Regions from separate parts of the Homo sapiens genome. Here regions 1, 2, 3, 4, 5 and 6 are each linked to region 7. The links are contacts of gene promoters, found by promoter capture Hi-C in blood cells and fetal thymus (Javierre and others, 2016). All regions are on one chromosome and are shown on one strand. Each heading gives the region's core, a stretch centred on a gene start or on the middle of the fragment in contact. The rest is flanking DNA. Distances are from core to core; before and after follow the strand shown. Region 1 has its middle 3.2 kb from the start of CD48. Region 2 overlaps LOC105371470 (a long non-coding RNA gene). Region 3 overlaps CD48 (CD48 molecule). Region 4 has its middle 19 kb from the start of SLAMF1. Region 5 overlaps LOC105371466 (a long non-coding RNA gene). Region 6 has its middle 18 kb from the start of SLAMF7. Region 7 holds the start of SLAMF6 (SLAM family member 6).

Evidence for each region. The method cuts DNA at HindIII sites, captures the fragments that hold promoters and counts their contacts. A CHiCAGO score of 5 or more calls a contact.
Region 1: a fragment that was not itself captured here is called in contact with the fragment with the promoter of SLAMF6 in region 7 in 1 of 17 cell types (activated CD4 T cells); the score reaches 5.1 in activated CD4 T cells.
Region 2: a contact is called between a fragment that was not itself captured here and the fragment with the promoter of SLAMF6 in region 7, in 1 of 17 cell types (non-activated CD4 T cells). The highest score is 6.2, in non-activated CD4 T cells.
Region 3: a contact is called between a fragment that was not itself captured here and the fragment with the promoter of SLAMF6 in region 7, in 3 of 17 cell types (non-activated CD4 T cells, activated CD4 T cells and total CD8 T cells). The highest score is 6.7, in non-activated CD4 T cells.
Region 4: a fragment that was not itself captured here is called in contact with the fragment with the promoter of SLAMF6 in region 7 in 5 of 17 cell types (non-activated CD4 T cells, activated CD4 T cells, fetal thymus and 2 more); the score reaches 7.7 in non-activated CD4 T cells.
Region 5: a contact is called between a fragment that was not itself captured here and the fragment with the promoter of SLAMF6 in region 7, in 2 of 17 cell types (total CD8 T cells and naive B cells). The highest score is 6.0, in total CD8 T cells.
Region 6: a fragment that was not itself captured here is called in contact with the fragment with the promoter of SLAMF6 in region 7 in 1 of 17 cell types (naive CD8 T cells); the score reaches 5.7 in naive CD8 T cells.

What each region holds. Positions count from the first base shown.
Region 1 is chr1:160,712,870-160,717,162 of GRCh38, forward strand. No RefSeq gene overlaps it. Among named protein-coding and RNA genes, the nearest start is that of CD48, 3.2 kb to the left of the region's middle. The HindIII fragment of the contact is 5,074 bases long and covers 468-4,293 here.
Region 2 is chr1:160,772,279-160,776,215 of GRCh38, forward strand. LOC105371470 (a long non-coding RNA gene) reads right to left here. Exons shown (of 3, transcript NR_188636.1): 3 at 432-3,936. Among named protein-coding and RNA genes, the nearest start is that of LY9, 22 kb to the right of the region's middle. The HindIII fragment of the contact is 3,707 bases long and covers 247-3,937 here.
Region 3 is chr1:160,683,758-160,688,018 of GRCh38, forward strand. CD48 (CD48 molecule) reads right to left here. Exons shown (of 4, transcript NM_001778.4): 2 at 1,130-1,432. LOC124904439 (endogenous retrovirus group K member 18 Env polyprotein) reads left to right here. Exons shown (of 1, transcript XM_047438433.1): 1 at 1-4,261. Among named protein-coding and RNA genes, the nearest start is that of CD48, 26 kb to the right of the region's middle. The HindIII fragment of the contact is 715 bases long and covers 894-1,608 here.
Region 4 is chr1:160,664,017-160,667,819 of GRCh38, forward strand. No RefSeq gene overlaps it. Among named protein-coding and RNA genes, the nearest start is that of SLAMF1, 19 kb to the left of the region's middle. RefSeq lists enhancers at 1,405-1,464, 1,478-2,039. The HindIII fragment of the contact is 529 bases long and covers 1,420-1,948 here.
Region 5 is chr1:160,373,475-160,377,638 of GRCh38, forward strand. It overlaps LOC105371466 (a long non-coding RNA gene), which reads right to left. Exons shown (of 4, transcript XR_007066686.1): 4 at 3,941-4,164. Among named protein-coding and RNA genes, the nearest start is that of NHLH1, 8.5 kb to the left of the region's middle. RefSeq lists an enhancer at 2,688-2,737. The HindIII fragment of the contact is 2,331 bases long and covers 1,622-3,952 here.
Region 6 is chr1:160,755,194-160,758,926 of GRCh38, forward strand. No RefSeq gene overlaps it. Among named protein-coding and RNA genes, the nearest start is that of SLAMF7, 18 kb to the left of the region's middle. RefSeq lists an enhancer at 299-348 and a silencer at 1,899-1,968. The HindIII fragment of the contact is 1,098 bases long and covers 1,300-2,397 here.
Region 7 is chr1:160,521,441-160,525,655 of GRCh38, forward strand. SLAMF6 (SLAM family member 6) reads right to left here and starts at 1,815. Exons shown (of 8, transcript NM_001184714.2): 1 at 1,704-1,815. The coding sequence starts at 1,752. RefSeq lists an enhancer at 1,600-1,649. The HindIII fragment of the contact is 3,138 bases long and covers 1,444-4,215 here.

The DNA of each region.
Region 1 (4,293 bases), core at 1,755-4,254, 190 kb after region 7:
GCAGGAAAGAGAAGCACTGAGCAGCAATGGGGAAAGCCCCTTCCTTATGAAACCATCAGATCTAGTGAGAACTCACTATCACGAGAACAGCATGATGGTAACTGCTCGTATGATTAACTTACTTCCTACTGGGTTGCTCCCATGATATGTGGGGATTATGGGAACTACAATTCAAGATGAGATTTGGAAGGGAACACAGCCAAATCATATCATGTCTAGGAAATTTCAAGCTCATTCCTATTGAATGTAAATTAGTTATTTGCCCACCCAGGACCCACAGGCAAGCCACAGTTCCTGATATAACATATTTGTAATCACTTTTTAATTGGGGACATTTCTGATTCTCAACATGGAGATGAACAATAAAATGTCTGCTCTTCTCAGTCCTCAAACCTGAAGGACATTATGTTAAGTGAAATAAGTCATGCACAGAAAGATAAAAAACCACGTTCCCAATCATATATGGAAGCTTAAAAAATGAGCTCATAGAAGTAGAGAGTAAAATTGTGGTTATCAGAGGCTGGGAAGGGTAGAGGGAAGTGGAGGATGGGAAGAAGTTGGTTAATAGATACAAAGTTACAGCTAGAGAAGAGGAATAAGTTCCAGCATCCTGTAGCACTATGGAGTGAATACAGTTAAGAATAATTTAATGTATATGTTCAAAAAGCTAGAAGAGAGGATTTGGAATGTTCCCAACACAAAGAAATGATCAATGTTTGAGGTGATAGGTATCCTAATTGCTTTGATTTGATCATCACACATTGAATACATGTATCAAAATATTACTCTGTATCCCATAAATATGTATAATTATTATATGTCAACTAAAAATAAAAGGGAAAAAAACATAAAAGTGAAAAGAAAGAACCCTGCAAATAAAATTTGAAACAGCACCAGAATCAAATTCCTCTTGGTCAAATTGTTACACTTTGGAACTGTGTGTTATATTTTTCCTATAAATTGATTTAACCTTAGGATACGACCCTGCTCCTTCAGCAAGAAAAGATAACATTGTATTAGATTTTTAAAAGAGACCCTGTAAATTAATGTTACATTCTCTTTTTTGGGGGGAGGGGGGCACAGGCTCCCACTCTGTCACCCAGTCTGGAGTACAGTGACCACTATGCATGGCTATTTTTTTAAAATTTTTTGTAGAGATGAGGTCTCACCATGTTGCCCAGGCCAGTCTTGAACTCCTGAGCCATAGGATCCACACTCAGTCAGTGGCAGGACGGGGAGTGCTGTGACCTGCTTCCACCTTGGGCACCAGTGTCTAAATGAAGGGAACACAGTGGCACTAAGAAACTCGGAGATGCCAGCAACTGCGGAGCCCTAAGGGGTGTTACAGCTTTGCTTGGGGAATCCCAAGGCCTGAGACCCCAAGAAATGTTACAGCTCTCTCTCTCGTTCCTGCCACCTGCAGCTCAGCAAATGAGGGCACCTCACAGCTCTTGTTCAGTCCCACTGCCTGCAGCTCAGCAAATGGGGGCATGTCACAGCTCTTATTTAGTCTTGCTGCCTGCAGTTCAGTGAATGGGGGTGTGTCACAGCTCTCACTTGGTCCCAGTGCCCACAGCTCAGCAAATACGGGTATGTTACAGCTTGTTCCTGCCACCTGCAGCTCAGCAAATGAGGGCACCTCACAGCTCTTGTTCAGTCCCACTGCCTGCAGCTCAGCAAATGGGGGCATGTCACAGCTCTTATTTAGTCTTGCTGCCTGCAGTTCAGTGAATGGGGGTGTGTCACAGCTCTCACTTGGTCCCAGTGCCCACAGCTCAGCAAATACGGGTATGTTACAGCTTGTTCCTGCCACCTGCAGCTCAGCAGGTCCTGGGTTCTTGTCCTGCAACCAAGAGGAATAAAGCATGCAGACAAAGGAGAGTGAGTAGGTCAGAGAATAATTTTATTGAGTGACAGAAGGAAAGCTCTCAGCAAAGAGGGGACCAGACAGTGGGTAGACCACTGTGTGAGAGGGGCCCCAAAACAGGTAGCCCTCTGTGAGGCTGAGTCTGGGGTTTTCATCGGCTCAGATTTGTCCATAGGCAGGCCTGGAAAAAGCACCATTCGATTAGCTAAAAGGTATCAAGGAAGTTCTCACTCTGGTTGTGGACTCTACCCAGAACTGGCAGCCCAGTTTTCAGGCTTTAAACTGTCTTTGTCTTGAAAGTCTAGTTTCACCAGGGACCCTTTTCTATCTGTCCAGGAATTTGTCTGTCTCCTGTCGCTATCACTTTGGGAGGCCGAGGAGGGCAGATTGCCTGAGCTCAGGAGTTTGAGAGCAGCCTGGGCAACATGGCAAAACCCCATCTCTACTAAAAGTAAAAATAAAAATAAATGTTAAAATACCTCCTTTGAATGTTGTTGTGAAAAGTTGAAGAAAGGAAAGAACTTTTATCTGAAGAATGTGAGTCCTTCAAATTATCAGAGAGACATTTAAATGAGACAGAAATCACATTTTACTTCCCCCTACTCCACCTTTGGGCTATGTATTCACCTCTTAAAACTACTTGCTATTGCTGCAAGTAACCATAAATTAATCTAATAATGCTGCACTGGACATATAACCCACACCTTACAGCTTAACAATATGTAACCAATCACTAATTAATGTTATTTCTGCAAACCAATGAGAATTCCAAAAAAAAAACTTTGTATCACTTTTTTTGCCTTTAAAAACCTGCTTGTAACAAAGGCTGAGCAGAGCTCAAAACCAATTTTACTTGGGTCTGAGTCTTCCAGGCAGCTGTCCTCCCTTTGGCTCAAGTAAAGTCTTCAAATCATATTTTGTGTTTCAGCCTCTTTCTTTTAGATTGACAAGTAAACAGCTCTATAATTCTCAACAGTCTGCTTAGATGTGAATTAATAGCCATGGGATATAGGCTGATGTTAAAACAAAGGATGAAATATAAACTTAAGCCAAGGAATCTTCCTCCTTTTGCATGGTAACAGCGGGCACTGAAGTACTATGGGTGCCCATTCTGAGGTTCAGGACTAGCTAGTTAGGCTTCTGCATAGATTCAAAAACAAGTCTGAGAGAAGTGACCAATAAAGGCTCAAAAGCCCTCTCCCTGCCCTAAGTGAATCAGCTGTTCTTGCACCAAAGCCCTGGTTGCAGAAATCCCTGAAGTTTGGGCATACCCAGAGGTGGGGCTGCAAAGACCCTAGAAGATGAAGTACAGGTCAACAATCCTCATGATGTGAATTAAAATACACACTCTTCTCAGTATCTAATCTGGTGGGCACTTGACCTACTGCTTGACTTTGACAAAGTGATAGTAATGACAGAAGCTATTATTTTCTGTGTATCTACTAAGTCAAGTACTTGCCAGGACCTTTGCCTATATTATCTCATTTAATCCTCCAACATTTTACAGAAGGATCAGGTTTCAAAAACAAAAACAACAACAAAACAACAAAATAATAATCCTCCAACATTCACATGAGGATATTTATAAACACTATTCTTATTTTACGGAAGAGATAACTGAGGTTCAGACAAGTCAAATGGCTTGCCCAAGGGCATTTTGCTAATTAGAACCAGAATCAAAATTCAAATCTACGTCTGTCTGATGCTCCAGCTGGCATGCCTAACTACTATGCACACAGACTCTGGGGTTATCAAGGTTCTGGGCATCAGGGGATCTGCAATATGCCTACAAGAAATGGAGAACACATAGGAAACACTATGAGAGTCATGCCAATGTGAAATTAGGAACTCAGAGAATATAGGGCCTTGAGTAGCCCAAAAATGTTCAAGGAGGGGTATGGTATTGAGCTGAGGATGGAAGACAGACCCCTGGTAGGTTAAGCAGGGCCTTGAATGCCACAACAGGCACAGCTTTGCTAGTGCCTGGAGAGTGAGAGAAAGTGAAGTCATTCCAATAAATTTTCCCCAGAAACAATGAGAGCAAAGATAGGAACAGGGTCGATCTCCCAGAAGATAGAATTGATGAGAACAGGTGGCTAATGTTACAGTAGGTAGTCAGGCAGACGTGAGCAGGGCAGGAGAGAGCCTCCCACACCACCAGCAATGACAGGCGACCATCAGGTGATGGTCAGACAATTGTTAATGTGCCTCTCTAAAATAATAATTGGTCGCAGCCAGCACCAGGGCATGGTGGCTCATGCCTACAATCCCAACACTTCGGGAGGCCAAGGCAGATGGATTGCTTAAGAACAGGAGTTTCAGACTAGCCTGACCAACATGGTGAAACCCCGTCTCTGCTAAAAATACAAAAACTAGCCAGACGTGATGGTGAGCACTTGTAATCCCAGCTATTCAAGAGGCTGAAG
Region 2 (3,937 bases), core at 850-3,349, 250 kb after region 7:
TTAGGCTGGCACCCTGTTTCTGTTTTTAAGTGAAAATCTTTTTATATGTCTCTAAGAATATTGTTTGAGGGATTTTATTTAATTTTCTCCTGCTCCCTGTATTATCTCTTTTCTTCCAAGTTTCTTTTTTCCCCCTGATTCATTTGGTTTGGAGATTGTCTTTCATGTTAGAGGCCTTCCCCAAATATCTTGTGATCCTGTCTGCCCTCTTATATTTCCAAATAAGTCATTAACTACTTGATTGGAAGCTTTGTGTGTAATGGGTGATATTTGCCAATCCTCTCTGTGAATGAACTAGGAAATGAGCTGATCAACTGAGAGTAAGAAAAAGAAAGAGAAGCTCAAAGTTTCCCACCTAAATTTTGCTTTTGGTTCAGTTATTTGTATATGGTTCAAATTCTAGATTAACGTATCTAGCACTGCAGAGCAGCTTTCTGTCAAAACAAAACATAAATGTTTCTTTTATTTTAACTTTTTCTTTTGCTAACTGTTGAGCATTCTAGGAAACTTTTAGGATAAAGATTTAATTTGCTGCTTCTCTCCATCAAAAGCAGAAAGAGAAAACAGACAATGGTGTAGGCCCCAGATCCTTGTAAAACCTCCTAATAGTCTTCAAATCTTAAGAAAAAATATTCTCAACTCCAATTCATTCTTTCATTCATTCAGTAAATGTTGAAGTATCTATCATAAGCCAAACACTATTACCCTTTGGGTTTTTAGTTTTGAAAAAATATATATAGAAATAGTTCTTATCCTCATAGAGCTGAATATCTTGTGAGGGAAATAAACAATAAATAAGTAAACCAACAAATAAGTGTGCCAGGCATGGTGGTCTATGCCTGTAATCTCCGCACTTTGGGAGGCCAAGGTGAGAAGATCACTTGAGGCCAGGAGTTTGAGACCAGCCTGAGCAACAGAGTTAGATCCTGTCTCTATGCAAAATAAAAAGAAGAAAAGAAAATATTTGATGGCTTAAATGGAATTCCCCATTTAGAGATTACCTGGTGGTTTCCGACTGGTTAAGTCATTCTGAGTTGGTTTTCTGTTTGCTTGTGTAGAATCCCAGATTGCTAGGGCCGTCTCAGCCTAACAGACTCCAGATTATTTTTTTAAACATACATTGATTATGAATGAGAGGAAAGATCTACTTAAGTATAGTGGCCAAAGGCTGCTCCAAGGAGATGACATTCAAGCTGAAGCTGGGCTGAATCTAGTTATTTAAACATTAACAAAAACTTAATAATATATATGTGTGACAATAACAATGTTTTTATGTTCCATTCAATTTTTCTTAAATAAATAAGCTCCTTTTTCTTTCTGAACACTTAAAAACACACTTCAATAAAACATAAACAGATTATTTTAAACAGAAGACACATAGCAGTTTCCTGATAATTTTGAACTCAGTTTGTAAATGAAATAGGGTTTATGCCTTAATCAGTGTCAATGTCCTTCTCTCACACCAGGAAATGCTGGCCTCAGGCAGCACTCCACATGCGAACTTCTTTAACTCTGTGTCTCACAGGATGGCCGCCATCTCGTACTTCTCTTCTTGGTTTCTCCCCATGTCCAGGTGAAATCTATTCAATCCCCAAAACTCCCAGAATCAAAAAAGGAAGAAATTCTTTCCTCAGGGAGTGGGGTACAAAGGAGGCTGAATGAACAATGACCACAAGTTAGTAATTGGGAGAAAAGGAAGACAGGAAGACAGAGAAACAGGGAAAATGATTTTGAAGGAAGACAAGTCAGAGGCATGGCTGGGCTGGAGGCCCCTTCAGGTAGCCGAATGTGGGGGCGGAACTGAAATGTCCATCAGGCCCCGTAGAGAGAGGGAGACTGTGAACGTCTACAGCCAATTATCATGTCTGCATGTGTCCCACAACACCCAGCGCAGATGCTTTTTAAATACTTGTCAGACCCACATTTTTTGACACCTATTACTCGTTGTGTATTAGAGATGCAGAGAACAGTAAGAATGTGTTTTTCTCACAGTTCAGTGGAGAGCACAGACACAAAAAGCCCATAATAGAACACATTCAATGTTGTCTTTGTACAACAAAATACAGAACTCTCCCAAAGTCATTTCCCAGGGCTGACTGGAAGATGAAATGGCCAAAAAGCTAGTCAGGTGCAGGTTGTGATGATTGTAACAGTGATTTACATGAGGGGTAGAAATTTATCTGGACCTCTTCTTCATTGTATCTACAATGGTTAGAACAGCACAGGGTTCATAAAAGATACTCAGTAAATACCTGTGGCTTAAATGAATGAATAATTGTTTAAATACCTTAGATAGTGGGCAGACATCATAGGGCTTTTTTTTAGTTTTTAAAATATTTACTATTTTTGATTGACAAATCACAGCAGCATGCATTTACGGTGAACAATGTGATTTTTGATCATGTATACAATGTGGCATGATTAAATCAAATTAATTAACATATCTTCACTCACCTACCATTTTTTACGGTGAGACATTTGAAATGTACTCCCTCAGCTATTTTGAACTGTATAATACATTATTATTGACCATGGTCGCCTTCTGTGCAATAGATCTCAAAACCTATTCCTCCTGTCTGTCTGAAACTATTACCGTTTAATCAACACTTCCACATTCCCTCTCATGTCCTAAAGTTTTAAGCTAAAAAGTAACACAAGCATTTCTTAATTTAGAATTAGACCTCTGGCAGTGCAATCTGGAAGATGATTGGGAAGGAAAAGATTAAGGAAGGAAGGAGTGGTTAGGAGTTTGTGGAGTGGTCCAGGCAAGGAATAAAGGGAAAGGGTGAGCAATGGCAGGATGTGGTGGGGAAGAGGAGGGGCCCTAAATGACACTGGCATTTCTGCCTTTGGCAACAGAAAGAAAACAAGGGGAGTGGAGAAAGGCCTGAGGCACCAGTCTTGAGAAGGATCCTGATCCAAGGGAAGATGTCCCAGGAGAGAGCAGCCCAGGTGACAAAGGAGAGCAGGTTAATGTGTCAAGTGCTGGGAGAAGCCAAGGATAACAGAATTTAAAAGTGGCCAATGAATTTATCCATCAGGATGTAGCTGGAGGGGCAAATCAGCAGCAAGTGGGTGGAGAATGAATGATTGAAGATCTGGAGTCAGGAAAGACAGCTGTTTCAGAAGGCAACTGAGAAGAGGAGAGACAGGATATGTTTGAACTAACACAGTTTCCAGCCATGACCTATGACTAAGCCAAATGGGACCAGGGACACCATGAGAGGCCTCCCCTTGCCTGCCAGAAGAGCACAGCCTCAAGTGTCTCTCAGAGCACCTCTAGGCAAGGGGAGGTGGTAAGTCCTCTCTGAGAACACAGGCAAGGGGTTTCGAAGCTCTCCTCAGTGGGCTGTGCAGGGTTGAGTGTGGGTGAGGCAGCACTTTTCCTCAGGGAGTCCCAGGAATGAGCTGAATGCCTCGCTGAGTCTGCAGCAGGTCAGGCACAGAGGACCGAGGCCAACAGAGAAAAGGTGGACCGAAGCGGGCCCTGGGATGGTGGCTCCAGAGCCCTTGTCTCCTGCCACCCCAGAGACACTTCCTGCTGCCAACTAATCTGGCTCCTCCCTTTCTTCAATTGCTCCTGGATCCAAGAGGAAGAGAGGCAGGGATGCTAAGAAACTAGACCAAGGCTTGCCAGGAAGAAGAGAGTCAGAGAAGGAAAAACATTACCTGAGCAAAGGGGTCTGGTAAGGACAGAGCTGGAGCTCTGGCTGGTGGGATTCCTGGCAGTGCAGTGATAGCTCTCACTTTCCCCAGATATCCAGGGGACACTGAGAGTGGTCCCCCCATGGGACACAACTGCCCCATGACTAGGAGGCTCCCAGCTGTTCTGCACATTCTCTCCAGCCTGTTCCAGGGAGCAGGCCAGGGTGATGAAGCAGGTCCCATCCTTCATGATCTGGGAGCTGGCAAAGATGTTCAACTCCTACAGCATCTC
Region 3 (4,261 bases), core at 1-2,500, 160 kb after region 7:
TACTTTGACTCTAATAACATCCTGAAAGGTAAGTAGAATTATTCTCATAATATGATGAAGAACCCAAGGCTCTCAAGGGAACACCACTCTTGGATTATTTAGCCCCGCTCTTCTACAAGAATTGCATACCCCAACCCCTGGAGCCCCTCCCCATATCCATGTTTCTGCCCTATAATCTGATCCTTTCACCAAAAATGTTTAGATCAGGTACACACACCTGAACTAAATTGGGACTATCAGTTTCTCTCTCTTTAAATTGCCCTGAGAATTGAAACTCAGAGGAGCAAAAGTCTAAGTTTTGAGAGATAACATGTGTAAAATGGCAGGAATCCAAATCCATAGGCACAGTCCACAGATTCCTGAAGCTAGGGGTTCTGGCCCGAACCTGGTTTTCAATCTTCTCCCCTTAAGCCCTTCCTAGCTCTTTTAAACTCTTTGAATTGCTTTAAATAGCCCTAGTTTCTTAAACTAAATTCTCCTTTTTTGGTAAAGGTACATTGAATTAGTTTCTGTTATTTGCTATCAAAAGAATCTTACCTAATATGGGCACAGAGATGTGAAGATCTTTTTTCAAGGCTGCACAGCTAGTGAGCAACTGACCAGTTTTGAACCCAAGTCTGTCTGGCTCCAGGTATAATGCCTGAGTCCTTATTCCATATACACTGGTTAGACTGGAGCTATGAGTGGAAGTTTTTTTGTCCTGCCCATTATGAAAGTTGAAAAATTCTCCTGATAACTCCTGCCCCATTCTTTATATTAATACATTCTCTTTTTTCTTAAGTCCAATGAAGCCTAATTTCGGAGATATAATCAAGATGAGCTGAGCTGATTTAGGTTGATCACAGGACAAAATGAAGGAAATAGGAAAAATCTCTAGTTTTCCTTCTCTTCAAAGCTTAGACTCACTAACTTCAGAAGAGGTGTTAAATGTCCTAAGATTGTTAATTTGGATATCTGTTGACCTAGGCTCACTCCCAAATAGAATTGGATCAAGGAAAAATGAATCAAACCTGTCCTGAGGTTTTTCTCTCCTCCTCCCCGAGAGTGCCCCATGCCTCCCAGGAAGCCCTACAGTGGTCCATCTGGGGCCACTGGAGTGGGGATTTGCTCTTTGGCTCCCCTGACTCACCAAGCACTTGCAGCTTGATCTTCCATTCTTGCTCATTCCCAGTCTTTTTCAACACCCTCATGATGTAGGTGCTGTTGTCCTCTTTCTGGACCTTAGAGATGTACAGTGCGCCACTCTGAGGATCAAGTCTGACCCTGCCTTTAAATTTGGATTCAAAGTACTTAGATTTTCTGGAATCCCATTCTACAATCTTCTGGTCGAAAGTATAAAACCAGGTTAGTTGTTTGTAGTTCTCAGGCAGGCTCTCAGAGATGTTCAGAGTCACGTTGCTGCCGGAGACCACGGTCATATGTACCAAGTGACCTGCCAATGAGATTCAGAGTGAGACCTGCGCTAGAGGAGGCAGTGTTGCTGACAGGCCCAGGGTATAGCCTGGGCTGGTGGAACAGGTGAGAAGGAAGGGATTTCTGCTTAGGAGCAGTGAGTATGGTTTTCACTGGAGGTCCAGGTCTCCTGCTTAGGAACTCAAGAAAAGTTGAAGCTTGAAAAGTGGGCATGGGGGAAGGGGATGCTGCTTATAATTAATCTAGTACTGTCCCCAGAAAATGAAAGAATTGAGTAAGGCCAACTGAGGTTGGGCCTGGCTCTCTCCCTTACTCTCATACCAGTAGACTTTCAAATAAACTGATGACAAGTCATATCTCTGCTCTGGTCTTGTGTTTCCTGTCTATTCTCATTTCAGTAAGCATGTTGTTAGTCCCTAGAGGCATAGACATAAAAAGTACATGATTCTGTTTAAAAATATTTAATATACCAATGTGGGAGGACAAACACACAAACAAATAATCCTAATATATTATCTTGATGACTATAATAAAGGTAACGTGGGGACCAAGGGAAAGCTTCCCCTTCACCTTCTGAAGGTTTGCCAAAAATCACTGACAAGAGGCAGATTAAGGAGGAAAGGCATACAGATCAATTTAACGTGTAAGCAGAGCCTTCCTAATGAAGAGCCAAAGATACAGGGCAAATTGTCCATTTTTATGCTTAGGTTCAACAAAGTATGGACAGTCATGGAGAAATATGATTGGACAAAAAGGGTATGATTGAATGCCAATAGACTGACTGCGGGAAACCCAGCAAGGCCTATCTTTCTAGATTCTGCTTGGCCTTTCTGTGCCAGATTCTTTCCTTCCTCCCGTGTGTGGGTCAGGCCCTCTCTAGAATGGGGGTCTTATGATTCACAATCAAACAAGATAGGTCAGATAATTTCTTTATAGCTATTTTTTTTTTACAGAGAAAGGCTCAAGGAAAGTTAGGGTGGTATATTTAAATTTTATGGCTGGCTTTGGGGAAAAGGGGTTTTGGCTTCTATGGCCCACCTTGGGAAAGAGGGATTCCAGTGTCTATGGCTAGCCTAGGGGAGAATGGGACTGATAGACAGGAGGGCAGGAGAAGGTCAGAGAAAAACTTTCACTTCTGAGGCTGCTTCTGAGGCCATCATTTTAGGGCATCATTTCCTGACTCCTGACAATAAACACAGTGTGCTATGGGAATATATTCCTATCCGGAGGGTAGGGATAGAAAATGGAGAAAATACTAAGAAAAATCTCTTTGGAGGAGATGACCACTAGGGTAAGCCAAAGGGTGATTAAAAGCTAATATTTGTTAAGAACTATCTGTCAGGCACTATTTGAGACACTTGGGATACATCAATGAACTAAGCAGCTATCGGGGAATCTGCCCTGATATTCACATAGGTTCTTTTCTATTTTTCCTAAGCATTGGCCAGCTTGAGAAATAAAGGGACAGAGTACAAAAGAGAGAAATTTTAAAGCTGAGCATCTGGGGGAGACATCACATGTCGGTAGGTTCCGTGATGCCCCACAAGCTACAAAAACCAGCAAGTTTTTATTAGAGATTTTCAAAAGGGGAGGGAGTGTGCAAATAGGTGTGGGTGACAGACATCAAGTACTTAACGGGGTATTAGAATACCATAAGGCAAGAGGAGGCAGGGCGAGATCACAGGACCACAGGACCGAGGTGAAATTAAAATTGCTAATGAAGTTTCGGGCACCATTGTCATTGATAACATCTTATCAGGAGACAGGGTTTTGAGATCAACCAGTCTGACCAAAATTTATTAGGCAGGAGTTTTCTCTTCCTAATAAGCCTGGGAGTGCTATGGGAGACTGGAGTCTATTTCACCTCTGCAGTTTCGACCATAAGAGACAGGAGCACCTGGGGGTGCTGTTTATAAGCCTATACCTCCAGGCGCGTATTCTCTTTCTCAGGGATGTTCCATGCTGAGAAAAAGAACTCAGCGATATTTCTCCCATTTGCTTTTGAAAGAAGAGAAATATGGCTCTGTTCTGCCTGGCTCACCGGTGGTCAGAGTTTAAGGTTATCTCTCTAGTTTCCTAAACATTGCTGTTATCTTGTTCTTTTTTCAAGGTGCCCAGATTTCATATTGTTTAAACACACGTGTTCTATAATTTGTGCAGTTAATGCAATTATCACATGGTCCTGAGGTGACATACATCCTCCTTGGCTGACAGGATTAAGAGATTAAAGTAAAGACAGGCATAGGAAATCACAAGGGTATTGACTGGGGAAGTGATAAGTGTCCATGAAATCTTTACAATTTATGTTTAGAGATTGCAGTAAAGACAGGCATAAGAAATTATGAAAGTATTAATTTGGGGAACTAATAAATGTCCATAAAATATTCACAATCCACGTTCTTCTGCCATGGCTTCAGCCGGTCCCTCCATTTGGGGTCCCTGACTTCCTGCAACATCTCTCCCTTTCTTTTTATATAAATGTGCCATGGCAATGAAGGCTTGTTCATTCTCTTGATTTTGACACAGGATTCTTTGAGTGGTCTGGGACACTAAAAACAAGCTGATTAAACACAGAAACATATTCCAAAATTTACTACAGTGGAGCCCCCAGTAGACTTAATCCAAGTAGTGGGGTTTAATCCATAAAGATTTTCTGCCACCTGATCTAATGCCTCAGCTCCAGGCATGATGGATAAGTGAGCTTGAGAGGCTTCAAAAATTTGTTTCTTTAATTTAGTTATGTCCAATGATAAATTATCTTCTCTACCTAGAAGGTGTCCTTTGACCATTTCCTATGAATGATCAGTCTCATTATAGGAATACGGGGTGATGCAGAAATCTGAAGTAT
Region 4 (3,803 bases), core at 434-2,933, 140 kb after region 7:
TCAAAAAAAAAAAAAAAAAAAAAAAAAGAAAGAAAAGAAAAGATTACTTTGGCCTTAGTGTGAGAGAAATTTAGGTAGACCTACAGGCTAGGAACAGATTTGAAGAAATGATGGGTCTTAACTGGAGAAGTAGCAATGAGGTGGGAGAGAAGGAGATCCATTGGAGAGTTATCTCATAGGTGGATTTTTCAGGGTTTGGTGACTTATTGAATGTGGGCTGTGAAGGAGAGTGGCCTATATACTATGGCCTTTACACTTCCAGTTCAGTTTCCCAGTAGATGGCAATGCCATTCTCTAAGAAAGGAAGTATAAGAGGTGGAGATAACTTAGGGGCAAAATTGAGAGCAAGGGGTATAAGATTATTTGTTGGCTTGGGATATGGTCAGTTTAAATGTTTACGGTTCATGCATATGGAGATTTCCAGGGGCTATTTGAAAACACAGAGCTGACTTTGAGAGGAGAAGTATAATCTGAAGGAAAGCAAACAAATATAGAAGTCATATTTTCAACTCCTTCATTTCACCCCAAGAAAGCTAATACTTAGAGACTAAAACTTCTAAGGGACTTACCATATGGCTAGTTTTTGAAAAGCCGTAACCAGAAACCAAATCTCTTGGGTTTAGGTCAATCCACCCATATCCTGATTGAGTTTCATTATGCTCTATTTACCTTCATGGTTCCCCAATCTAACAATGCCTGGCATACAGCAAGTGCTAAAAATGTTTGTGGAATGAATATACTGATTGTGGCCTTTTTTGGTGGGGGTAGAACTGGCCCCACACCTTCACATCATCACTGGAATTATGCCTCAGAAGCATCTTGGAAGTCAGCAGACCTAGGGAAGTCCTACTTAGCCATGAAATTTGCATTTCCCCAGGTACCTCCCAACCCCTCTCCACTTCCTCTGAGAGCAAAACCTCCGTTGTTCATGTCACACCCATGGGCAGCCTTTGTGCTCAGTACACAGACCTGATTGAGAAGATTGATAAAAGCAAAATAGAAAGAAGCCGTGATCTGGGTCATATGAGTTATACAACCATTTCCCTCTTATTTTACACTTGGGGAAACTTAAGCTAAGAGATCTTGTCTTAATTCATTAAAATTAGAGTTGCCAGCCCAGAAGAGAGGAAGGAGAAGTTTGGGACAGAGGAAGGCAACTAATACTTATTGAGCACTTACTGTATGGCAGACTTTATGTGGAATGATTTATTGAGGTTATCTCATTTAATCCTGATTTTAAAAATCATCCACATACGGAAACCGAGGTTTAGAAAGTTTACTTTTCCTGAGGTTCAGAAGCTGGTAAATGACGGTTCTGGAACTCAAACTCAAGGCTGTCTGGCTCCAAAGGTCATGCTCCTTCCCCTATACCACACAACCTCCCAGAAGCTTGAAATGTGGTTCTGGGTACTAGGTATAAGCTTGAAGACCAACCAAACATGCTCATTCCAGTGCTCTCTCTAGGAGCCAACAAGCCCTCCAACATTGCCCCCCTAGAAGGTCCTGCAAAATTGAGTTGTCTAGGGTTTGACAGAGTCCAGAAGACATTTTCGAACATAAGAAGGGCAATGGGTCAAGCCCCAGGGAGTACCCAGTAGTATCAACAAAGAAAGGAGAATGTGTATTTGACTTCCAGCCTCAGCCCTGCTGGTAACTTGCCAGACGGCCTTGGCCTGGCCACTTCCTTCCTGTCCTCCACCAAGATTACAGAAAATTAGGAAATGCAAATTTTATGGGCTTCCCTGCTGACGATTTCTAAGTCTTCTTTGTAGTAATCATTCCTATCACAAAGAGGGTGGGAAACGGTGATTATGGACCAGGGAGAGAGTCCTATTCCTAAGAAGTGGTTCTTGGACTTTGGAGAGGCAACAATTGGTTTGAGTCTTAACAAATGAGTGGGAGTTTGTTAGGTCAACGAGGAGTGGGAGGGGATTCCAGGAAGTGTAAAAGCTTGAGCAAAGGCATTGAGTAAATTCGGGGAACTGCTAGCAGTTCAGGAAGGTTGCAGCATTCAGTGCAAAGGAGGGGCCAAACTAGAAATTGGACAGGAGAAAATCACAGAAACCAAGCCACATAAGGATCAGTAGAACCCTGTAGGCTCTCCAACGAGCCTATCCTTGAAGGATTTAAGCATGAAAATGTTGTCATTATTAAACCTAGGCTTTAAAGAGGTCCTTCTGCTCTGTGTTGCTGTCCTCTGCCAGAGATAGCAAGACTGACAGAGGCTGTGCTCCTGTAGCCTGGGAGCCAGAATGGAGAGACACATTGGGCAGAGCCCGGCAGAGTCACAGGAACTTGTAGTCCCCATCTGTTTATTATTCATGGAAGCTTTCTCCTTTTCTTGATTGGATCAACAGAAAAATAAACTGTCGTCTTTGGCAGATGATTCAATGGGAATTCAAGGGTTTCAATGGGAATTCAAGGTTGAAAATGATAATGTACTCTGAGAACTCACAGGTCTATAAAAGGAGAGGCCTATACAAGGAAAGAAGAGGATGTGGTAAATGCAGAACAGACCCTCAGCATCTTGAAGGACCATCAAGGGGAAATAAGTATTGCAGACCTTTCATTAATCTGTGTAGTTAACTTTTTATTTGAAAATAATGTCAAAAGAGCTGCAAGAAAAAATTATTATTAATAATAGTACAAAGAACACGCTTATAAATATCCTGCAGGGAGGGGTCTACAAGTTGGCTGTGACTGTGAATACCTCTCTGTAATGTTTTGCCCATTTTGCTTTAATATTAGCTAGTTCTCTCTCTCTCTCTCTTTCTGTCTCTATTTGAACTATTATAGGGTAGGTTGCATATGGCATGGCTCTTTATCTTAAATACATCAGTGTAAAGAATTAGGATAATTTCTGACACAACTACAATATAGTTATCACTTAAGTAAATTTTACATTGATAACAATATTCTTGTCTAACCTACTGTTTGCATTTCAATTTTGTCGGTTGACCCTTTGTAACCATAATTTTCCCTCCAGGTCAGGATCCAGTCCAGTATTAGGTATTGCATTTAGTTGTTGTATCTCTTTAGTACCCTTCAACTGTAACATTTCCACAGCTATATCTTCTCCTTTATGACATGGATATATTTGAAGAATGCAGTCTTCCCACCCTTTCCCTTTTTTTTTTTTTTTCTTGAGGTGGAGTCTTGCTCTGTCACCCAGGCTGGAGTGCAGTGGTACAATCTCGGCTCACTGCAATCTCCACCTCCCGGGTTCAAACGATTCTTCTGCCTCAGCCTCCTGAGTAGCTGGCATGCACCACCACACCCAGCTAATTTTTTTGTATTTGTATTTTTAGTAGAGATGGGGTTTCACCATGTTGGTCAGGCTGGTCTCAAACTCCTGACCTCATGATCCGCCTGCCTCAGCCTCCCAAAGTCCTGGGATTACAGCCTCTCTTTTTTAATAGCAAATTCCTCACTTGGGGTTTTTTGGTATTTCCTTATGATTAGATTCACATTATGCATTCCCAGACTAGGTACTACACAAGTGACATTGTACCCTCAAGGTATCACATCTAGAGACCCTTGATGTCTTCTCATCGATAATGTTAATTTTAATCACCTGGCCAATATATTGCCAACAGATTGCCAGATTTCTCTATTGTATAGTTATCTTTTTTGATTTTAACTAATAACTATGTGTTGGCATACAGTGGAAGGCCATGCAGACATCTTACTCCTCATCAAAATTTCCTCTGAGATTTAGCATCCATTGATAATTTTTGCCTGAGCCTGTCTTAATTGTGATAGTTACAAAATAATAACTTTCTTCACTTTAGCACCTCACTCCA
Region 5 (4,164 bases), core at 1,537-4,036, 150 kb before region 7:
CACAGCTAACTGGGGGCACAACTAAGGCCCAAATCCAGGTTCTTTCTACCATATGCTGCCAACTCCCCTCTGCCTCCCTAAAATGACCCAGGCTGACAGTTAGCCCTCTTTTGGACCCCATATTTTCATAGGTGCATTGATAAACTAGAGAGGATTTAGGGTTGTGTGGCGAAGAAACCAAAAGGTCTGGAGACCACTTTATAGAAGAAATAGTTGAAAAACTGAGGATATGTGTCTTGATAAGAGTAGACTTGGGGGTAATATGACACCCATCTTTAAATATTGAAAGAAGAATCAAAAATGGATATTCTGTGGGGCCCCAGTAGGCCGAACAAAACCCGTGAGTAGAAGTTAGAAGAAAGCAGATTTTAATTTGAAGAAAAATTTTGCAACACCTGGAGCTGTCCAGCAATGGCACTGACTGCCTCAAGAGGAGAACTCCAAATAGAGAAGCTGGAGAGTCAACCACACGCAGAGAAATCATAGAGCACATTGCTGCCTCAGATGGAACACTGGCTAGGTTCATTAGAAGATCCTCTCCAAACTTAAGGTCATACGAGAAGGCTGAAGGCAAACAGCAGGAGGGAAATGCAGAGACAACTTTCAGTCCCTGAAATATTTTCTTTTTTCTTTTTATCTTTTTGAGACAGAGTCTTGCTCTATTGCCCAGGCTGGAGTGCAGTGGCGGGATCTTGGCCCACTGCAACATCCACCTCCCCATTCAAGCCATTCTCGTGGTTCAGCCTCCTGAGTAGCTGGGACTACAGGCGCCCGCTGTCATGCCCGGCTAATTTTTGTGTTTTTAGTAGAGATGGGTTTTCGCCATGTTGGTCAGACTGGTCTCTAACTCCTGGCCTGAAGTGATCCTGCTGCCTTGGCCTCCTAAAATACTGGGATTACAGGCATGAATCACCATGCCCAGCTATGGGTTTTCATCTTTGATGAACAAAGAATGACATAAGCAGCATGAAGGGCTTGAGTTAGACCTAGGGAGGAGCTTCCATACAGGAGGACTTGACATCTTCCCCTTCCCATGTGAGTTAAATGACATGTGCTCTGCCCAGAGCCTGGCAAAAGGGAAGGCTGAACTGAGATCAGGGAGAACTTCAGGACTCCAAAGGGCCAGAGTTGGACGGGAACACAGAAATCACTGAATCCAACAACTTTATTTCAAAGGCAGGTAAACTACTGTCCAGACAGGTGACGTGACTCACCCATGATGATGGCCTGGGATTAGAAGCCAAGTCTTCCATTCCTGGCCCTGAGAGCTTTGTGCTTCTCTGTGCTCAGCAGCCACAGTCCTCTGGGCTCCCTGCCTCCCTCTCTTGTCTCTTTGCCTGGGCTGGAGAGCAGAAGGGCTTAGGGGGCCCCTCCCCTCAGGGATCCCTGAGGGCCTGGAGGTGGTGAGAGGGGGAAGCTGCAGCTGTTCTACTGCTAGCTCCGAATTTCTTCAGATAATCAATTGGCCTCGCTGCCGCTGTCGCTCTTGTTGCTCTTCTCACTCTGGGAAGGACAGGAGAAGGAGGTGGAGAGTGGGAAGAGGAGGGAGCAGGGGACCAGGCACTGGGGGAGGAGGGAGAGGGCAGGGAGATGGAAGTCCCTGGGCTGAGGGGAAAGTGAAAGCTTTGGGGCTAGCAGATAGGGAGGATGGGGAAAAGGGATTGTTAGAAGAGGATCTGCTCTGCATCCCTCATTCCACATCCCTCTAAACCCAACTCGTGGGTGGTGGGGTGGGGGAGGGGCAGTTAGGAGGACCCCAGAATGGGACTCTTGCACTTCACCCCTGCTTCCTTACTCCCCTTGCCAAGTATCCCATGCATGGCCATAGCTCCCCCAGCTGTCCATGCCCTCTTCCAGTCCTAGTGACCACAGGTGCCTGACCCTCCAGTCCTGTCTTCATCAACGCCCTGTCCTGTAACTCAGCAAACCCATCACCAGTGACAGAGCAGAAGTCAAGGCCCCAGGGGCTGGGTGGGGGTTGCCTAAAATCTCTCTCTCTCTCTCTCTCTCTCTCTCTCTCACACACACACACACACACACGCGCACACACACACACTGTCATAGGCTGCCAGGCATATGGCCTCTTTGTGCCCACACAATGGAGGCCCTGTCTGTGCCCTTTCCCAAGTCTGGGCACAGTGTGGAGGGTGCTCCGCTTCCTCATTCCACCCACCTCCCTTCCCTCTCCACCCCCAGTGCAGGCCCTGTCTTCTTTGCCTTTGCTTCTTCCTCTTTCTGGAAAGCCCTTTCTACCACCCAGTTCCTTTATCTTTCTGCTTTCTTCTTGTGTTCTTTCCTGAGCTTTTGACCTCTCATTGGATGAGGATTATGGGCAGAAGAAAGAGGCTCACAGTGCTGGGATGTCAGCGCAGGGAGGAGAAGGGAGCAAGCAGAGATGAGCCTGAAAGGCTGAGAGGGAGTGGAAGAAGGGAGGCAGTGGTGGCAGTGCAGCAACACTGTGCTAGAGGGGAGAAAGCCCACACCCGGCAGCCAGAGGTCCCGTGTCCCTGCTCTGTCTCCACCTTTCCCCTTTGTGCCACAGTGAGCAAACCGCATGCCCTCCCTGAGCAACAGCTTTTTCATATGGAAAGCAGGAAAGACAACAAGACCCACCGGGGTGTGATGAGGATTAAATGAGATCATCGTGAAAGTGTTCAACACCGGAAACGCTCATCAGATGCTATCTCAGGGGCAGTAAGTAGCAGGGTCAACTGTACTGTCATACAGTTTGTGCACTTTACAAAGCACCAGGCTAAGGGCAGTGCAGGGGCCTGACACCCAACCCCACTTCTACTAGACCAGCTGTGCACCAGGATGCAAGCATCCCCTGAGAGGTGGCCCTGGAACTGAGCCCCTCATGTGGGTTCCTGAGCATTGGTCAGGAGTCCAGATGAAAACTCCGAAGTCCTGACCACCTTGGGAACCAAGACAGAATGGAAAGGGACAAGAGGCTAAGGGGAATGTCTCTCCCTGAGGGGGAAATTCCTGAGCTTAGTCTTCTCTGAGCAAATAGACAATCCATGAGATCTACTAAACTAAGGATGGAGAAACTGCAGCTGAGGAGAAGAAGGGGGCTGAAGAAGCAGAAAAAAAAGAGGGAGACATGGATCGAGGGTGTGATCAGAGCAATGTGTTGGTCTGAGGACCCTTTTCTGGTTCCCTCGTCCTCCATTCCCTCCCTTCAGCAAGTTGAAGGCTGATTTGATTATTGCTTGTTGAACACTGTCCCCTGCTGGCTACTAGCAGAAACATTTTCCCTCTTCCCTATCCCTAGCTAGGAGCTGCTGAGAGCCTGAAAAAGAGAAGAAATGACCTGACTGGGGACAAAGGACGAAGGAATTGCAATTCTGCAATCTGGAATTCTCTACTTGTCAGAGATTTCTGGAAGGTGAAGGAGGCTTGAAGGCTGACTAGGGGTAAACAGAGTTTAGAATTCATAGGTGGTTCATTTACATATATTATGGCCTATAATTTTCAGATTGATTTTTTTCTGGTCTGTGTCTGTTTCATGTATTGTGTGTCTGTGTTATGTGTGTGTTCTGTATCTGGGCGTGCTTACCTGATTCTGTGGTTTTTGAACACGTGTATATCTGTGTACTTTTTTGTGTGTGTGCTCTTTTTAATATAGGAGTCTGAGTGACAGCTGGCAGGTATGGAGCAAGGAGAGGGAGCTGTCGAATTTCCTCTTTCCTAGAAGCCCGTTCTCCCCTTGAAGTTTTACCTTTGTCTCCCAGCTCCATGAGCTATAACCTATGGCTATTTATAGGTTACAGGTTTTGTTCTGGCTCCTGCCCCTCTTTGGACATCCCAAGCTCAGAGCCTTGATTCGCTCTAACCTGGGACTCTTGGGCCTCCCAAGCAGGGTCTCCAGTGTGGTTCCCAAGTGAGAATCTCTACTGTCTATGTCCCTTTTATCCTTTCTAGCATTAAACTCCAGCCTCCTTCTTTTATAAGCTTGTAGCTACCTCTTTCATTGGTTGATTTCAATTTATTCAGTGCAGCATGCCTTTATGGAATAGCCAATGTATACCGGGCACTGTTCTGGATTCTGAAATACAGGATCAGGCCCTCCCCACCACCTACTTGGGAGGGAGTATGGGAGACAGGCATGTAAACATATCAGTTTCCCAACAGTGAGAGGCATCTGCAAGGAAGCGAGTGATT
Region 6 (3,733 bases), core at 599-3,098, 230 kb after region 7:
GACAGAGCAAGACTCCATCTCAAAAAAAGAATTATGGGTTATACTCAGCATCATGAAATATACCTGTGTAACCTACACATGTAGCTTCTGAATCAAAAATAAAATTAAAAATAACAAATTTTTAGCATGTGCCTGTGGTCCCAGCTACTTGGGAGGCTGAGGCAGGAGGATCTCTTGAACCCGGGAGGTGGAGGTTGCAGTGAGCCGAGATCGCACCACTGCACTCCAGCCTGGATGATAGAGTGAGATTCTGTCTCAAAAAAAAAAAAAAATTGTTTAAAAAAAACTATGGGTTGGCCAGGAGTGGTGGCTCATGTCGGTAATCCCAGCACTTTGGGAGGCTGAAGTAGGAGGATCACTTGACCTCAGGAGTTCAAGACCACCCTAGGCAACTTAGCAAAGCCCCATCTCTACAAAAAAATACAAAAATTAGCCAGGCATGGTGGTGCATGCCTGTAGTCCCAGCTACTCAGGAAGGAGCTGAAGAGGGAGGGTCGCTTGAGCCTGGTAGGTTGAGGCTGCAGTGAGCTATAATTGTGCTACTGCACTCCAGCCTGGGCAACAGAGTGAGACTCTGACTCACAAAACAACAACAACACAACAACTATGGGTTTTCAAGTTAGAAAATGTTATGACATCACAAATATAAAAAGTAGAATGCAAATTTAATGTGCTATATGATTACAGCTGTGTTTTAGAAAAAATCTCTACAGGGAAAAATTTGGAAGAAAAAACATCAAAATAGTAACACCAGTTGTTTAGGGAGGGTGAAAGCTTAGGTGGCTTGGTTTTTTCCTATTTTCATTCATTTTCTGAATATTCCTCAATGAGAAAGTATGTATTGCATAATAGAGTAGAGGAAATTTTAAATAGGTGCTCAGTGAGAAAAACGAGGCACTACTCACTACGTGGGGTTGAGGGGAAAGTCTGAGACCCTCATGGTAAGGGTGTGGGGGAGGATGGAAAGACCTCCTCGAGTGAGAATGGGTGGGGAGAAAGGAGAAACCCTCCACATAATGACAGAGGAGAAGATGACTTTCCCTCAGAGAGGGCTGCTGGAGGCTGAGGGGAGCTTCACAGTGTGTGAAGACAGAGGCGTGGAGAGGGGGATGCTGGGACTGAGGATGCATCTGTTCTGCCTTCCCCTCTCTCCTCAGAACCCATTCAGATGATAAATAATTAGGGTTAATCATACTTTGGGGTTTTTTAAACCAGTGACTGAAACAGGACCTAGGGAGACCAATAGATCTGGTCTCTGGACACTCAATAAATTCTGTCCCAAAGCTAGTTGCAGAAAGAAGCTTCCCCTCATGAGTTCAACCAGTAGGCAAAGGAAACCACCAGCTCTTCAGGGTGAGAAGTCACACCACCTCATAGCCCCATTACATGCAGCCTCCAGAACTGTGTGGTTTGCAACTTGTGAGGTGCAAATAACAAATTCGTAAACATTGAAACCTTGGTGGAAAGTAAAGAAGGTATCTGTACCATTTCAGTAAGGCTTTCACTCATTCATTTGATCATGTATGCATTCATTCATTTATTCATTCAGCAGTACTTATTGAGCACCAGTAAGTGCTGGACATTATGCTGAACTCAGGGAATACAGCAGTGGGCCACAACAGAGGTCTCTGCCCTCAGGGTGCTTACATTCTAATGACAGAGGCCAACACTCAAATATCCTTTAAATAACATGGTTGCAGTGATGACTGCTATGAAAGAGAGGTGTGTGGAGCCAAGAATGGCAAATTTTCCTGTGGTCAGAGACAGTATCTCCAAAGTGATGAAGACTGAGCTGAGATCGGAAGATGAGTAGGAGCTACTTACAAGAAGTGGGAAGGGAAAATAAAACCCTTCTAGCCAGAGGTGCAAAGGCCTTGTGGTGAGAGGACCTAAAAGAACGAAAGTCAGTGTGGCCAGCAGAGAGAGTTGCACTTTTAAAATTTCATTAGTTGCAGTATGGGAAACAGATTGTAGGGGGTCAAGACTGGATGTAGGCAAACTGAGTCAGAAGGCTCTTACCGTTATCCAGGAGAGAGGTGATGGTAGGTTGGACAAGCATAGTAGGATGCAGAGAGAGGGAAGGATGCTCTCAAGAGGTATCTAAGGGATAAGGAGGTTCCTGCTTTCAGTACTGTCTTGGGAATGTGTGCTGATCTGGAAAAGGAGGTGGGAAGATGGGCCTTTGCTTTTGATAGCCTCTTGGGACTAGAAGGACAAAGTTTGGAGTCTGGGGCTACCAAGGTTAGAGAACTGGTAAATCCCTCATCTTTTTGACTTGGGACCCCAAAAGACTTACCCTAGGAGACTTATCCTTCTTGTAAACAAGAAGTACACCAGTTTTAATTCATCTATGGGGCCAAGAAAATCTCAAAACTGGTATTAGATTAAAGAGATCCAAGCTTACGAGTGCCCACAAGTACCTTACAGAAGCAAACAAAGACCATCACTAAAAGAAAATAACATTCTTAGGCCTCACAATTTTCCTACAAATAATTTTTCATAAGCAATGTTCATCATATGTTCAGAGATATCCAGGCCCATGAGGAGGATCCAGGCCCATGGGGATCATCCTCCTCCATGAGGAGACCCATGAGCAAGACCCTCCTGGTGGGGACAGCCTATCACAGACTGCAGCCCAGGATGCAGCCCGGCCCACCTCCCTCTCATTTCATCCCAAGAAGATGGAAGGAGGAACTTCCAGCCTCCTCAGTTCATGTACTTGTAGACAGACTTTAAAGATGTTTGGAGTTCTGACTATAGTCCTAAGCATACTCTTTATTGCAATCTGTCAAGAACATAGCCAGCAACAGGGAAGAGTTGATAAACCATAACATGATCATTTATAATATTTAATGTTTAGTACAGTCACAATTGCCAATCATTGTTCTAAATAATACATATATATATGTGTGCATGTATATACATATGTACATTTATTTAATCTTCATAACAAACATAACCATTTTATAGATGAGGTAGTTGAGACCAAGATTGTCTTTTGTCTAATTGGGTTTTGTGGGTTGTTTTGTTTTGTTTTGTTTTGTTTTGTTTTGTTCGGCTCATATGTATTACTGCTCTAGGCAGTATTAATTAATTGATTAATTTATTTAAAATTTATTATTTTAAAATAAATGCTGGTACTGCTTGTCTTTACTAATTATAAAAGTTATTTTTTCCTGCAATTAAAACTTATTATGCGTCTACAATGTGCTCCCCATACTTCTAAGAGCTCACAATCAAGTGGGAGACAGGGATATCAACAGACATTACAAGTTAAAATGGTAGGTAAGAAAATAAAGGCATATAAGACATATAGGGGGTTGTATTACTCATGGTTTTCCTGAGAAATAGAACCAATAGATTATTTGTAAATATATATAAAAGGAGACTTATTATAGGAATTGGCTCACGCATTAGGAAGGCCAAGAGGTCTCATGATCTTCTGTCTGCGGCTGGAGAACCAAGAAAGCCTGAGGAGTAATTCAGTTCATGACTTGGAAGGCCTGAGAATTGGGGAGCCAAAGGTGTAACTCTCAATATGACCCAGAAAGCCAGAGAAATGAGACTACCAGTGCCCAAGGGCAGAAGAAAAATGCATGTCTCAGCTCAAGCAGAGAGACCAAATTTGCTCTTTCTCTGTTTTTGTTTTTTTGGGGGTTTTTTTTGTTTGTTTGTTTGTTTGTTTTACCTTTTTGTTTTGTTTTGTTTGACATGGAGTTGTATGTTGCCCAGG
Region 7 (4,215 bases), core at 565-3,064:
ACATTCAGAATATTTTATTCTAGAGGTGGAAATAATTTTGCAGGGTGGTAAAAATGAAGCAAAAACTCAAGATTCTGCTCCTAGATCAGGAAGTGGCTCTTGAATGAAGGAAAGAATTCTCTCTCTTTCTGCATTTTATATATATTTCCCAAAGTTCTGTTCTCATTCCAGTTTTCTCCTCAGCTTAACATATCTCTATGCCATTGATTTTTAAGTCTCTAGCCTCAGCTCTACCCCTAGTCCTAAGTTCCCAGGATCCTCCACGTAACTTCCTCATGTATAGCACACTGACATCCTAAAATCAGTAGGTCCAAAATTGAACTCACCTTCCTCCTGTGGCTGCTCTCCACCTTCCAATTTTGTCACTTTCTTTGGCTATCCTGTCTGAAATTTCACTGCCGTCTTTACCATATTTCATCTCTCCCTTTCCTTCTTGATTTATTTCTTCCTACCCAATACACTATTTTACTTGTTTATCTTTTTTTACAGTTTGTCTCCTGCTAAAATGTTAACTCCATGAGGGCAGGAATTTTTGCTTGCTTTGTTCATGATGTATTCATGCAAACTAGAAGAGTGCCAAGCATTCAGTAGGTGCTCAATGAATATTTATTCCTTTCTCATTCCAATTACCAATTACTCTACTTAACTCCATATTGATGGGATCTCTTGCTTCAGTCTCTTCTTTCTCTTATGCTGCTGCCACACTTGTTGAACTGTTATTTTTTCTCATAACTATTACAAGAGCTTGTCGCATGCTGGCTAATGAAATTTGGGCAAATTATTTAAATTAAGTTCACCTCAGTTCTTCATTTTAAAATGGAGATATTAATAGTATAAATTCATAGAATTCTCATGAGACTCATAACGTGTGTACAGCACCTGGCACAATACTTGAAATACAATAAGTGCTCAGTGAATGCTTCCTACTTTTATCTGCTACCCTGGGCTAGCTCTGGACTAGATTTCCATTGGTCTCCTGGACTATCTCTGCCTGAATGCTACACTTTGTCTCCCGTGGACCACTTGTAGTTCCCCAAATGTGATATGAATCTTCATCTTCTCCATATAATGGACAGCAGGAAACAAGAAGCCAGCTGGATCAGTTCATTCTTTTCTCACTGCCATATATAATGCATTGCTGGACTAGCTAGCCCTAATTTGCACTAAAGGAGGGGAGAGATGGAAACCTTTTTTTTTGCAATGAGCAAAAGGTGAGAGGGTTATTTTTGGTGTGTTTGGTTGGGCCCAGAAAATTTGGCTCAACTGAATAATAGGTTTTTAATAATTTAGATGAGGATAGTGAGGTTCAGGAAGGATAAGTAACCTCCCTGAGGTTCACAGTACGATAGTAGATACATTGGTATGAGGGCCCATTTTCTTGGTCTTGGTACTCTTTATAACACAAGATGCTGGTCATAAACCACAAACAGTCTTGTCTTCAAAAGCTTATTTCCTCTGCCCCAGCAAATAACTTTCTTACATGCAGACACAATTGAAATTGTTCACCGACAACCATCTCAGGCTTATCGCATCCAAAGTTGAGAGGAGGTAGTAGTATATCAGGTAACACTGCCAGCGTCCCCTTTCCCGCCCCAATCCCTTGGCAGAGAGCCAGACAACTGTATACAGACGATTTAGGTTGAGCAAGCTGCACAAAACCAGGGAGTCACTCAGTGACTACACCGATCTGGATTGACATTTACCTGGGCCAAAGCAGAAGACAAACAGGAGCGATTGGAACAGCCACAACATGCTTTCCGCGGTGAAGACTGGTGCTTGAGACCTTGAGGCAGTCAATGTTTTTGCCCTTCTGTCATAAACTGAAAATACTTCTGAGACTTCCCCTTCCTCTTAGAGGCGTGGTGACAACTTCTTCCCCTGCACTAAAAATCCTAATTTGTAACTGTGTTAATTTTTTGTTTACTTTTTTCTGAGCTAAGTGCACAAATTTTTTTTTTTTTTGGAAAAGAAGATAAAGTCCTTTATTGCATCTTTCATAAACTTATATGTAAAAGTCTGTAAGGAATTTCCTAAAATCTACTAGAACAAATAAATGAGTTCAGCAAGGTGAAAAGATACAAAATCAAAATATAAAATTCAATTGCAATTGTATATACTAGCTATGAGTAATCCAAAAATAAAATTCAAAAAACAATTCCACTCTAATTACATTAGAAAAAAATATTTAAGTATAAAGCTAAGAAAAAGCCAAAAGAAAACTGATTTTTTAAAATTATACTTTAAGTTCTAGGGTACATGTGCACAATGTGCAGGTTTGTTACATATGTATACATATGCCATGTTGGTGTGCTGCACCTATTAACTTGTCATCTACATTAGATATTTCTCCTAATGCTATCCCTCCCCTTGCCCCCCACCCCGTGACATACCCCAGTGTATGATGTTCCCCTACCTGTGTCCATGTGTTCTCATTGTTCAGTTCCCACCTATGAGTGAGAACATGCGTTGTTTGGCTTTCTGTTCTTGTGTTAGTTTGCTGAGAATGATGGTTTCCAGCTTCATCCATGTCCCTGCAAAGGACATGAACTCATCCTTTTTTATGGCTGCATGGTATTCCATGGTATATATATGCCACATTTTCTTTATCCAGTGTATCATTGATGGGCATTTGGGTTGGTTCCAAGTCTTTGCTATTGTGAACAGTGCTGCAATAAACATAAGTGTGCATGTGTCTTTATAGCAGCATGATTTATAATCCTTTGGGTATATAACCAGTAATGGGATTGCTGGGTCAAATGGTATTTCTAGTTCTAGATCCTTGAGGAATCGCCACACTGTATTCCACAATGGTTGAACTAGTTTACACTCCCACCAACAGTGTGAAAACATTCCCATTTCTCTACATCCTCTCCAGCATCTGTTGTTTCCTGATTTTTTAATGATTGCCATTCTAACTGGCATGAGATGGTATCTCATTGTAGTTTTGATTTGCATTTCTCTAATGACCAGTGATGATGAGCTTTTTTCATATGTTTCTTGGCCGCATAAATGTCTTCTTTTGAGAAGTGTCTTCATATCCTTTGCCCACTTTTTGTTGGGGTTTTTTTTTTTTTCTTGTAAATTTGTTTGAGTTCTTTGTAGATTCTGGATATTAGCCTTTTGTCAAATGGATAGACTGCAAAAATTTTCTCCCATTCTGTAGGTTCCCTGTTCACTCTGATGATAGTTTCTTTTGCTGTGCAGAAGCTCTTTAGTTTAATTAGGTCCCATTTGTCAATTTTGGCTTTTGTTGCCATTGATTTTGATGTTTTAGTATTGAAGTCTTTGCCCATGCCTTTGTCCTGAATGGTATTGCCTAGGTTTTCTTCTGGGGTTTTTGTGGTTTTAGGTCTAACATTTAAGTCTTTAATCCATCTTGAGTTAATTTTTGTGTAAGGTATAAGGAAGGGAACCAGTTTCAGTTTTCTGCATAATTGCTAGCCAGTTTTCCCAACACCATTTATTAAATAGGGAATCCTTTCCCCATTGCTTGTTTTTGTTAGGTTTGTCAAAGATCAGATGGTTGTAGATGTGTGATGTTATTTCTGAGGCCTCTGTTCTGCTCCATTGGTCTATATATCTGTTTTGGTACCAGTACCATGCTGTTTTGGTTACTGCAGCCTTGTAGTATAGTTTGAAGTCAGTTAGCGTGCTGCCTCCAGCTTTGTTCTTTTGGCTTACAATTGTCTTGGCTATATGGGCTCGTTTTTGGTTCTGTATGAAATTTAAAGTAGTTTTTTCTAATTCTGTGAAGAAAGTCAATAGTAGTTTGATGGAAATAGCATTGAACCTATAAATTACTTTGGGCAATATGGCCATTTTCATGATATTGATTCTTCCTATCTATGAGCATGGAATGGTTTTCCATTTGTTTGTGTACTTTCTTATTTCCTTGAGCAGTGGTTTGTAGTTCTCCTTGAAGAGGTCCTTCACATCCCTTGTAAGTTGTATTCCTAGGTATTATATTCTCTTTGTAGCAATTGTGAATGGCAGTTCACTCACGACTTGGCTCTCTGTTTGTCTATTTTTGGTGTATAGGAATGCTTGTGATTTTTGCACATTGATTTTGTATCCTGAGACTGCTGAAGCTGCTTATCAGCTTAAGGAGATTTTGGGCTAAGACAATGGAGTTTTCTAAATATACAATCATGTCATCTGCAAACAGAGACTATTTGATTTCCTCTCTTCTTATCTGAATACCCTTTACTTCTTTCT